Regions from separate parts of the Homo sapiens genome. Here region 1 is linked to region 2. The links are contacts of gene promoters, found by promoter capture Hi-C in blood cells and fetal thymus (Javierre and others, 2016). All regions are on one chromosome and are shown on one strand. The core of a region is centred on a gene start or on the middle of the fragment in contact, and the rest is flanking DNA. Distances in the headings are between cores, read along the strand shown. Region 1 overlaps C8orf76 (chromosome 8 open reading frame 76). Region 2 holds the start of LINC01151 (long intergenic non-protein coding RNA 1151).

The links. The method cuts DNA at HindIII sites, captures the fragments that hold promoters and counts their contacts. A CHiCAGO score of 5 or more calls a contact.
Region 1: a fragment that was not itself captured here is called in contact with the fragment with the promoter of LINC01151 in region 2 in 1 of 17 cell types (naive CD8 T cells); the score reaches 5.1 in naive CD8 T cells.

The regions. Positions count from the first base shown.
Region 1 is chr8:123,221,431-123,226,201 of GRCh38, forward strand. The region is part of intron 5 of C8orf76 (chromosome 8 open reading frame 76); the gene reads right to left. It overlaps ZHX1-C8orf76 (ZHX1-C8orf76 readthrough), which reads right to left. Exons shown (of 6, transcript NM_001204180.2): 6 at 4,761-4,771. Among named protein-coding and RNA genes, the nearest start is that of MIR4663, 8.0 kb to the left of the region's middle. The HindIII fragment of the contact is 3,745 bases long and covers 1-3,520 here.
Region 2 is chr8:122,690,928-122,695,926 of GRCh38, forward strand. It overlaps LINC01151 (long intergenic non-protein coding RNA 1151), which reads right to left and starts at 3,179. Exons shown (of 4, transcript NR_126348.1): 1 at 2,954-3,179; 2 at 2,446-2,554. RefSeq lists enhancers at 2,475-3,674, 3,495-3,995. The HindIII fragment of the contact is 4,977 bases long and covers 16-4,992 here.

The DNA.
Region 1 (4,771 bases), core at 398-2,897, 530 kb after region 2:
ACAAAAAAAAGTATCATTTTTTTGAGTCAGAGTCTCGCTCTGTAGCCCAGGATGGAGTACAGTGGTGCGATCTTGGCTCACTGTGACCTCTGTCTCCTGGGTTCAAGCAATTCTCCCACCTCAGCCTCCAAAGTAGCTGGGACTACAGGCAAGTGCCACCATGCCCAGCTAATTTTTGTATTTTTAGTAGAAACAGGGTTTCATCATGTTGGCCAGGCTGGTCTTGAGTTCCTGACCTCAACTGATCCACCCGCCTTTGCCTCCCAAAGTGCTGGGATTATAGATGTGAATGAACCACTGTGCCCGGCCAAAAAATTGTTTAAAAATCAGCCGGGTATGGCAGCACTCAACTATAGTCCCAGCAACTACTTGGGAGGCGGAGGTGGGAAGATGCCGTGAGCCCAGGAGTTGGAGGCTGCAGTGAGCTATGACTGTGCCACTGCACTTCAGCCTGGGAGATAGAGTGAGACCCCACCTCCAAAAAAAATTTTAAAAAATGTATTTGATAACCACTGGAGTGAGGCTCTATGTGATAGTGTAAATGGCATCTTATTTTTCTTTTTTTTGGGGGGCGGGGGGTCAGAGTCTCACTCTGTCGCCCAGACTGGAGTGCAGTGGTGCAATCTTGGCTCACTGCAACCTCTGCCTCCTGGATCGAAGCTATTCTCCTGCCTCAGCCTCCCAAGTAGCTGGGATTACAGGCGTGCGCCACCAGGCCTGGCTAATTTTTGTATTTTTAGTAGAGACAGGGTTTCACCGTGTTACCCAGGATGGTCTTGATCTGACCTCGTGATCCACCCGCTTCGGCCTCCCAAAGTGCTGGGATTACGGGCGTGCGCCACCGCGCCCGGCAGGCATCTTATTTTTCTTTTAGTGACACATCAAATGATATGTCTTAAAACTGATGATTTCCTGGATTCAGTGAAATGTAGTATTTTAAAATCTGGGATAAAACACCAAAAATGCCTTTCTTAAAAAAAGATAAATGAATAATAGTAAGACCCAAACAACACACTATTCCCAAAAGAGGGACAGATAGGCACAATATTTACAGGTGTCAAAAATCTGCCAAAACATTCAGCCACATAAACATTTTAAACTTCCATATGCCAAAAAAAATCATAAACTTCAGAAAATATAGTAACTATAGAAAGATACTTAAGTCTAATATAGGGAGAACTCTTAAAATTGCTATGAAAAACAGAAAGAATAATGAAGCAAAAGCAAGACTAGGCATTTGACATGATACAAATGGCCAATAACACATGAAAAAATTGTTCATCTTAATAGTAAATAAACATTAATGCTAAAAACATTACATTTTTATCTACCAAGCTACCAATTTTTAAAGTAATATTATTAAGTTAAATTATATAAAACAGAGGTCAAAATGATTGATTTCACATGGTTCAATCTAATAGTCAGGATCAGGGTAGAAAAAACAATGCTTTCACATATTGCTAGAGGATATATAAATTGAACTAACCTTTCTAAATGATAATTTGGAAATGTGCTTTAAGTCTTTAAAAATGCTCATATATTTAAATCCAGCGATTCTATTTCTAATAATCTGTTCCAAAAGGTACAAAGGCACATATTGATTTTCTTGCAAGGATTTATTAAAATAGGTACTGAGTATTTGTTAAATGTTCAACACAGGGAACTAAGTAAATTATAGTTTGTCCAAAAATTGACTATCCAGTCATTAAAAATTATGTACTCAAATAATATTTAGGATATAGGGTCATGCCCATGTCATAATGTTAGGTAAATATCAGAACATAGAAAATAAAATGTACAGTTTGGTAGTTCCTAAAAAAGTTAAACAGAGCTAATATATGACCCAGTAATTCTACTCCTAGGTATATACCCAAAAGAATTAAAAACAGAGACTTAGCCGGGTGCAGTGGCTCATGCCTGTAATCCCAGCACTTTGGGAGGCCGAGGCAGGCAGATCACTTGAGATCAGGAGTTCGAGACCAGCCTGGCCAATATGGTGAAAGCCCTTCTCTACTAAAAACATAAAAATTAGCTGGGCATGGTGGCACACGCCTGTAGTCCCACCTACTTGGGAGGCTGAGACAGGAGAATTGCTTGAACCTGGAAGGCAGAGGCTGCAGTGAGCCGAGATAGTGCCACTGTACTCCTGCCTGGGTGACAGAGCAAGACTCCGTCTCAAACAAAAAAAACAAACAAAAAAGGAGACTTAAACATACTTATATGCTAATGTTCATAGCAGCATTATTCACAATATCCAAAAGGTAGAAACAACTCAAGTATCCATCAAAAGATGAGTAGATAAACAAAATGAGATATGTACATATATATGAATATTATTTAGCCATAGAAGGTATGAAGTTTTGATAAATGCTAAATATGGATAAACCTTGAAAACATTATGCTAAGTGAAATAAAGCAGACACAAAAGGACACATATGGCATGATTCCACTTATTTGAAATATCTAGAATAGATAAATTCACAGAGAAAAATAGTAGATTAGAGGTTCTAGTGGGTAGAGAGAGAAGAAAATAGGGAGTTATTGCTTAATGGGTAGAGTTTCTGTTTGGGGTGATGAAAAAATTTTGGAAATAATGGTCATGGCGGCACAACACTGTATACGTACTTAATACCATTGAATTGTACATTTAACAATGATTAAGATGGCAAATTTAAGTTACATATTTTATCAGAGTAAAAAAGAAAGAGGGAGAAGAGCAGTTGTTATAGAATAAAAAAGACATGAGACAAAAGGGCCACATATAGTATTTAGACCTTATTTGGATCCTAATTCAAATAAAAGAATTACAAACAGGAAAAAAAAGCATGTGATCATAGAATATTTAAGGATACAGGGCTATGTTATTACAAGTCAACTAAAATTAAAAGCACAAAATAAAGGCCAGGCATGGTGGCTCACATCTATAATCCTAGCACTTAGGGAGGCCAAGGCGGGACGATCATTTGAGGCCAGGAGTTTGGGACCAGACTGGGCAACATAGCAAGACCCTGCCTCTACAAAAAATTTTAAAATTAGCTGGACATGGTGGTGGGTGCCTGTAATCCTACGAACTTGGGAGGCTGAGGTGAAAGGACCACTTGAGCCTAGGAATTTCAGGCTGCAGTGAGCTAAGATTATGCACTGCAGCCTAGCCTGAGTAACAGAATGAGACCTTTTAAAAAATAAAAATAAGCACAAAACAAAATGTACATTATAATCCTAATTACAATCCTAACGAGGGCCCAGACATTTTCCATCTTTTTAAAAAGCTCCACTGGTATATCACATGCATTGTCTACACAGGAAACTACTCTTCCACCCAACCAACAGATTTATCGAGCATGGTGAAGAATACAAAGATGCTCAAAACATACTATTACTTATAAGGAACCTAGTATCTAGTTGAAAACATAAGATACATTCTTATGTCTTCTTAGGGCCCAAAGAGCTATCTATTCAAGCAATCACTATCTGAGCTCAGAGGAAGGAGAAATGACCACAGAGCAGAATATTCCGGAAAAGCTTCCTGGAGGATGTGGAACTTGGGAGAATTAAAAGACTGATCAGAAGTGTTTTTTTGTGTTTTGTTTTTTGAGATGGAGTCTCCCTCTGTTGCCCAGGCTGTAGTGCAGTGACACAATCTCGGCTCACTGCAACCTCCACCTCCCGGGTTCAAGCAATTCTCCCGCCTTAGCCTCCCGAGTAGCTGGGATTACAGGTGCCTGCCACCTCAACCGGCTAGTTTTTTGTATTTTTAGTAGAGATGGGGTTTCACCATGTTGGCCAGGCTGGTCTTGAGCTCCTGACCTCAAGTGATCCACCCACCTTGGCCTCCCAAAGTGCTGAGATTACAGGAAGTGTTCTGATGAGTAGTTCCATTTTAGACATTTTGTACTTGAAGTGACAGAAGAGTAATCAATAATTATCCCAGGTTAACCACCTAGTAGGCAATTAATCTGATGTGAGACACATGTCCCAGAGATGAGACTAGAGATAAAGACTGGAGAGTAATCAACCCAGAGGTGACAATGGAACCTAGGGGTGTGGTGATGATTTCTGTGACAGAAAAGTAGAAAACAGAGAGGCCAAGGGAATCTTTAGCATGCCATTACTTACGCTACAGAAGAAACCAGCTGAGTCCCAAGAGGCAGAGGAACGTTAAGAAACACAGGAGAAAAACAAACCAGTGTAGCCTCTCAGAAGTAAAAGGAAGAGATCAGGCATGGTGGCCCAGGCCTGTAATCCCAGCACTTTGGGAGGCCGAGGTGGGTAGATTGCTTGAGGCCAGGAGTTCAAGACAGACTGGCCAACATGGTGAACCCTGTCTCTACTAAAAATACAAAAATTAGCAGGGCGTGGTGGCACATGCCTGTGATCCCAGCTACTCGGGAGGCTGAGACATGAGAATCGCTTGAACCCAAGAGGTAGAGGTTGCAGTGAGCCGAGATCGTGCCACTGCACTCCAGCCTGGGAGACAAAGCAAGACTCTGTCTCAAAAAAAAAAAAAAGTTAATGAAGGTTTACATGTTAGTTTAAAAAAAATTACCTTTGAATTTCTATGCAACCATCAAAGTAGTAACAGGGTAGAGCAGGAATAAAATGGACTTGCAGCTGGCAAACACAAGCTCCAGACCAGCTCTCCCACTGAAAATCTGACCGCAGGCAAGTCACAAGTTCTCTGAGCCTCAATTCTAGCTCTACTCAACTTCACAAGCTGTTATGATGAATGGAGGAAAAAAAATAGAACTGCTACACAAATGTAAGCATTCAT
Region 2 (4,999 bases), core at 1,929-4,428:
TGCAACATAAGCCAAAGCTTGCAAACTTGGAGGCTGGAGGCCAAATCCAACCTCCAGACATGTTCTGATTGGCAGGCACTTGGGGTTTGCATTCTGAGTATGAATGACTGGAGGCAGGGCATACTCCAGGGCTGAACACTTGGTCTCCCCCTTTCTATTATCTTACACCTGGACTGTTTCCCTCAGTTATGCCATCAGCCTGCTCCCTTAAGGCTTTTGAGTTCACGCTCCTGAATAGGCTCCGGAGAGCCATTGAAAGATCTTACACAGAGCAATGGCACTACCTGTTCTGTATCTCATATCATTCCTTCTGGCAGCATCGGGTTGGAGTTATGAGATTGGAAATAGGAAGACTGAGTAGAGGTATCTTTTTCAGGACTGTTGGTTGCAAGTGTCAGAAATCTTACTCAAACCTGCTTAAATTATTTAAAAAGATATGTTAGTTCCATAACTTTAGAGTCCAGGATAAGTTTAAGCCTCAAATATGGCTAGATCCAGGGGTAACATGATGACAATATGTCTCTCCATCCTGCTTTCCCATGTTTTGACTTTGTTCTCAGCCAGGCTCTCTGCTAATGGAGAACATGGTCCCTGGCAGCCCCAGACTACTGTGATCCTAAAAGTCAACTGTTGCCAAGAAAGAAGAATGTCTTTCCTGATAATTCTGACAAAAGTCCCAGGTTAAATGAGATGGCATGTGGAAGAATAAATAAATTAATAAATAAATAAATAAACAAAAGTCTCATGGAAGACTCTGATTGGCCTGGCTAGGTCATGTGACCATTCATAAGCTAAAACACAATGCTCATATAAGGAGAATGTATGGAACAGGACAAACAATCACCAGAGGATGGAACTCCAAGGATGTGAAAGGCTGAACAAAGGAAGAGAAATCTACGAAGAAAGGGTGGTCAGAGAATTAGGAATAGAATCAGAATCAAATGATATCCCAGACACAAGGAAAGAAATATTTAACACAAGTGGGCAACTCTTTCAAATTCAACTAAAGTATATTTCTTAAGTTTTTTATAAAAAACTGTGATGTATTGGATTGGTAAAATGTTAGAATTACTTTTGGTGGAGTTGTGGGCACTTGGGGCAGGTTGAGGAGTTGGCAATGGATTGAGGCATGCATAGAAAAAGTAGAAACAAAATTATAGATGACCTAAGAAATTTGGTTGAAAGAAACAGAAATAGAGAGGTTATAGAGAAAGAAACAGGATCAAGGTAAGATATTTTTGGTTGTAAAGTGTTTGAATTAGCAGGTGGGAAGGAAGCCTGAAAATAAAGAAAAGGGAGTTACTTTTTAATTTTTTTATTATTTATTTAATTTTTTAGAGACAGGGTCTTGCTCTGTCACCCAGGCTGGAGTGCAGTGATGCAATCAAAGCTCACTACAGCCCCAACTTCCCAGGCTCAAGCAATCCTCTACCTCAGCCTCTAAAGTAGCTGGGACCACAGGTGTGCACTACCACACCCAGCTAATTTTTTTTTTTAAGAGATGAGGTCTCACTATGTTGCCCAAGCTGGTCTCAAATTCCTGGGCTCAAGTGATCCTCCTGCCTCAGCCTCCCAAAGTGCTGGGACTACGTGAGCCACCACACTTGGTCAACTATTTAAAAAGAAAGATTGAATTACAAATAAATATAACTACTAGAAGCATCAAGTCAAGATACATGGCAGTTGAAAATTTCTGAGGATTGTCTAAATTCCCGTTTATGATGTCTTTCACCTTTATGGTGATGGAAGAAATAGGAAGCCCTGCTAGCATCTGCTACAGCTGTTCATTCATTCATTCATTGATTCACTCAACAAATGATTATGAAGCCACCACCTGGCCAGGCACCAGTCCAGGTGTTAGTGATCCAGCAGTGAACAAAATTGACAAAAACCTGCTTCCATGGGTAATAAATGCCCCCTGACACTCGATTCCTGGCTCTCCCACCTTCCTACAGACCTGATCCATGCACTTGGCTTCCAGCTCTTTCTGGGCCCTACAGGCAGATGTACCCAGGATACCAGGTGCCATCTCTGGCAGCTGAAAGTTTGGTTCTCTGGATTGTTCCAAACTTCATTGCTTTTGCAAGCTGCTTACTCACCACCCGACAAAGGGTGAATAGTGAATACAGTCACATCTTTCTACGCTCACCATCTTTCTTCCCTTTTAGAACCTAGAGGAGGATAGAAAATAACAAAATTTTCCCCACCTGAAGCTGCCAGTAGAATTCCCAAAATAAGATTAACTTCTCTAGATGACTCACCTAAAAATCTCGCCACACTTCTCTTGTGCTGCTGAGAAAACAACCAAAAGTAGCTATTATGCTGGAATGTAGGTGAAGATCAAAAGTGGACATCAAACTTGCCAGAAGCAGAGAGCAGGAAGACTTGAAAATAGAGATTCTGGACTCAGACTACCCAGGTTCCAATCCTGGTGTCCTCACTTACCAGCTTTCAACACCGAAAAGGAGACGCAGATGGAAATCCACCCTGCCCAAGAAGCAGCTTCCCACTGGAAAATGGTAATAAGAGTAATAATAGCAGGTGCATCAAATAGCTGTGAAAATGAGATGCAGTCATTCATTAAAGTGCTCAGCAAGGGGACCACGTGGGCGGAGGGCTGAGGTGAGGGTGCATTGCCATGTGGAAGTTGGGTACTACAGCCAGAATGCAAAAGGATAAATCCAGTGTTCACTAAATAATACTGATAAATTTTCTTACCTAATACACTCTCCTTCTGACCCACTCAGCCTGAACATAGAGAGGCAGGAAGGTAAGATTTCCCTGTCCACTTCAGAAACTGAGGTTAGTACAATTAGTTCTTCATTCTTCATGTCTGAGGCCCATTGGCTTCAAGAAAATCTATCTTTCTCTTAAAAACAACTCACTGTAACCATTAGGTCAAAATTACAGCTAAAGATCGAGTTTCTGCAAAATGTCAAATAAAATGTCTTACCATTTGTGACAAACAGCTGTTGCCTTCTTCTCCACGATGGAATCAAAGGATCTTATCACCTTAAAGGAAAACGACTAAAGCAGAATTATTTTCCTTTTAATCTTTTTTCCCCTCCATGGAAATTTACATAAGAAGGAGCTGTAATCCATTCCTTTCTGTGTGTCAGAAAATCTCCACTCTTGTGGTCTCCATGGCAGCAACTCCCAACCTGAGACAGAGGCTGTTTCACCCCACAGAGTGCATTGGACTTTTATCTGGTGAGTGCAATCAATGTAGACAAGCACATTGGATGACTCAAACTTGGGATTATTTCTGATTTTGAATTCCGTGTGTGTTTTGGCTCTCTGTGTTGGTCAACAGTGCCAGATGAATTCAAGTCTGCCTGTTACTTTATGTTGTGGTGAAATGGCCTGATAAGCCCCCTGGCGTTTTGAATGCTGGCTCTCGCTCTACACCGATGATGAAGCATTTTCCAGGTTTCTAAGGGGGTGATGCAACTGACTCACTTTCCGGGTCAGTGGGGACTTGCCCTCAAGCTGTTCTGGCAGCGGTGGGCCACTCTTTCTCAGCTTATCTTTTTGTGATGTCCTGAAACACACTCACCTGTGGCCACTGAATAGCGTTAAGCCCATGGTGGGTGAGCTATTGTGAAGCTGAATTAGCACACCCAAATGGGATTTAAACCCATGATCTGCCCTCGTGAGTGGGAACCGGTGGAGTGACCGTGTCCGACGCTCTCAAGGCTAGGTCAGGCTTTTCTGAAATGGCCATTTAAAGCCTCCATTTGTTTCATGCTGTGAAAGACTCTGTTTAGAGGGTGAAAAGACAACCTGCAGACTGGGAGAAAATATTTGCAAGCCAATATCTGACAAACATTTTGCATCTTCTAGAATATATAAAGAACTTTCAAAACTCAACAGTAAAAAAAAATTAAACATGGCTGAAAGACATGAACTGATATTTCACCAAAAAGGATAGGCAGATGGCAAATAAGCAAGAAAAGTTGTTCAATATCATTAGTCATTAGGAAACTGCAAATTAAAACCACAAAAATATATGCCTACACACCACTTAGAATAGCTAAAATTTTAAATAGTGATAATATCAAATGCTGGTAAGGATGCAGAGAAACTAGATCTCTTATACATTGCCTGTGGACATGTAAAATGGTACAGCCACCATGGAAAACAGTTTGGCAGTTTCTTACAAAATTAAACACTTACCATATGACCCAACGGTCATACTCCTGGCATTTATCCCAGAGAAATCAAAACTTATATTTACACAAAAACCTGCATATAAATATTCGTAGTGGCTGTATTCATAATGGCAAAATACTCGAGGGAAAAAAAAGCAAATGTCCAATAGGCAAAGGATGGAACAAACTGTGGTACCTCCATACAATGGAATACTACTTAGCAACAAAAGCAAATGAACTCTTGGTACATGCAACAACCTGGATGGACCTCAGGCATTATGCTTAGTGAAAAAAGCCAGTCTCAGAAGGTTACATACCTTTCGGATCTGTTTCCACTTATCCAACATTCTCGAAACGATGACAGAAAGAGCACAGATTAGTGGTTGCCAGGGAGCAGGAGGATGAGGGGGGAGGAATACAAACAGATAGAATGGAATTCTTTTTTTTTTTTTTTTTAAGACACAGTCTCACTCTGTCACCCATGCTGGAGTGTGGTGGCATAGTCTAGGCTCACTGCAACTTCTGCCTCCCCAGTTCAGGCAATTCTCCTACCTCAGTCTCTGGAGTAGCTGGGATTTACAGGTGTGTGCCACCACACCTGGCTAATTTTTGTATTTTTAGTAGAGACGGGGTCTCACCATGTTAGCCAAGCTGGTCTCAAACTCCTGACCTCAAATGGTCCACCCACCTCGGCCTCCCAAAGTGCTGGGATTTTAGGCATGAGCCACCGCGCCCGGCCTGAATGGAATTCTTTTACTGTGATGGAACAGTTCTGTATCTTGATTGGGATGGTGGTTACATGAATCTATACATGGGATAACATTACATACACACAAATGCAAGCTTAA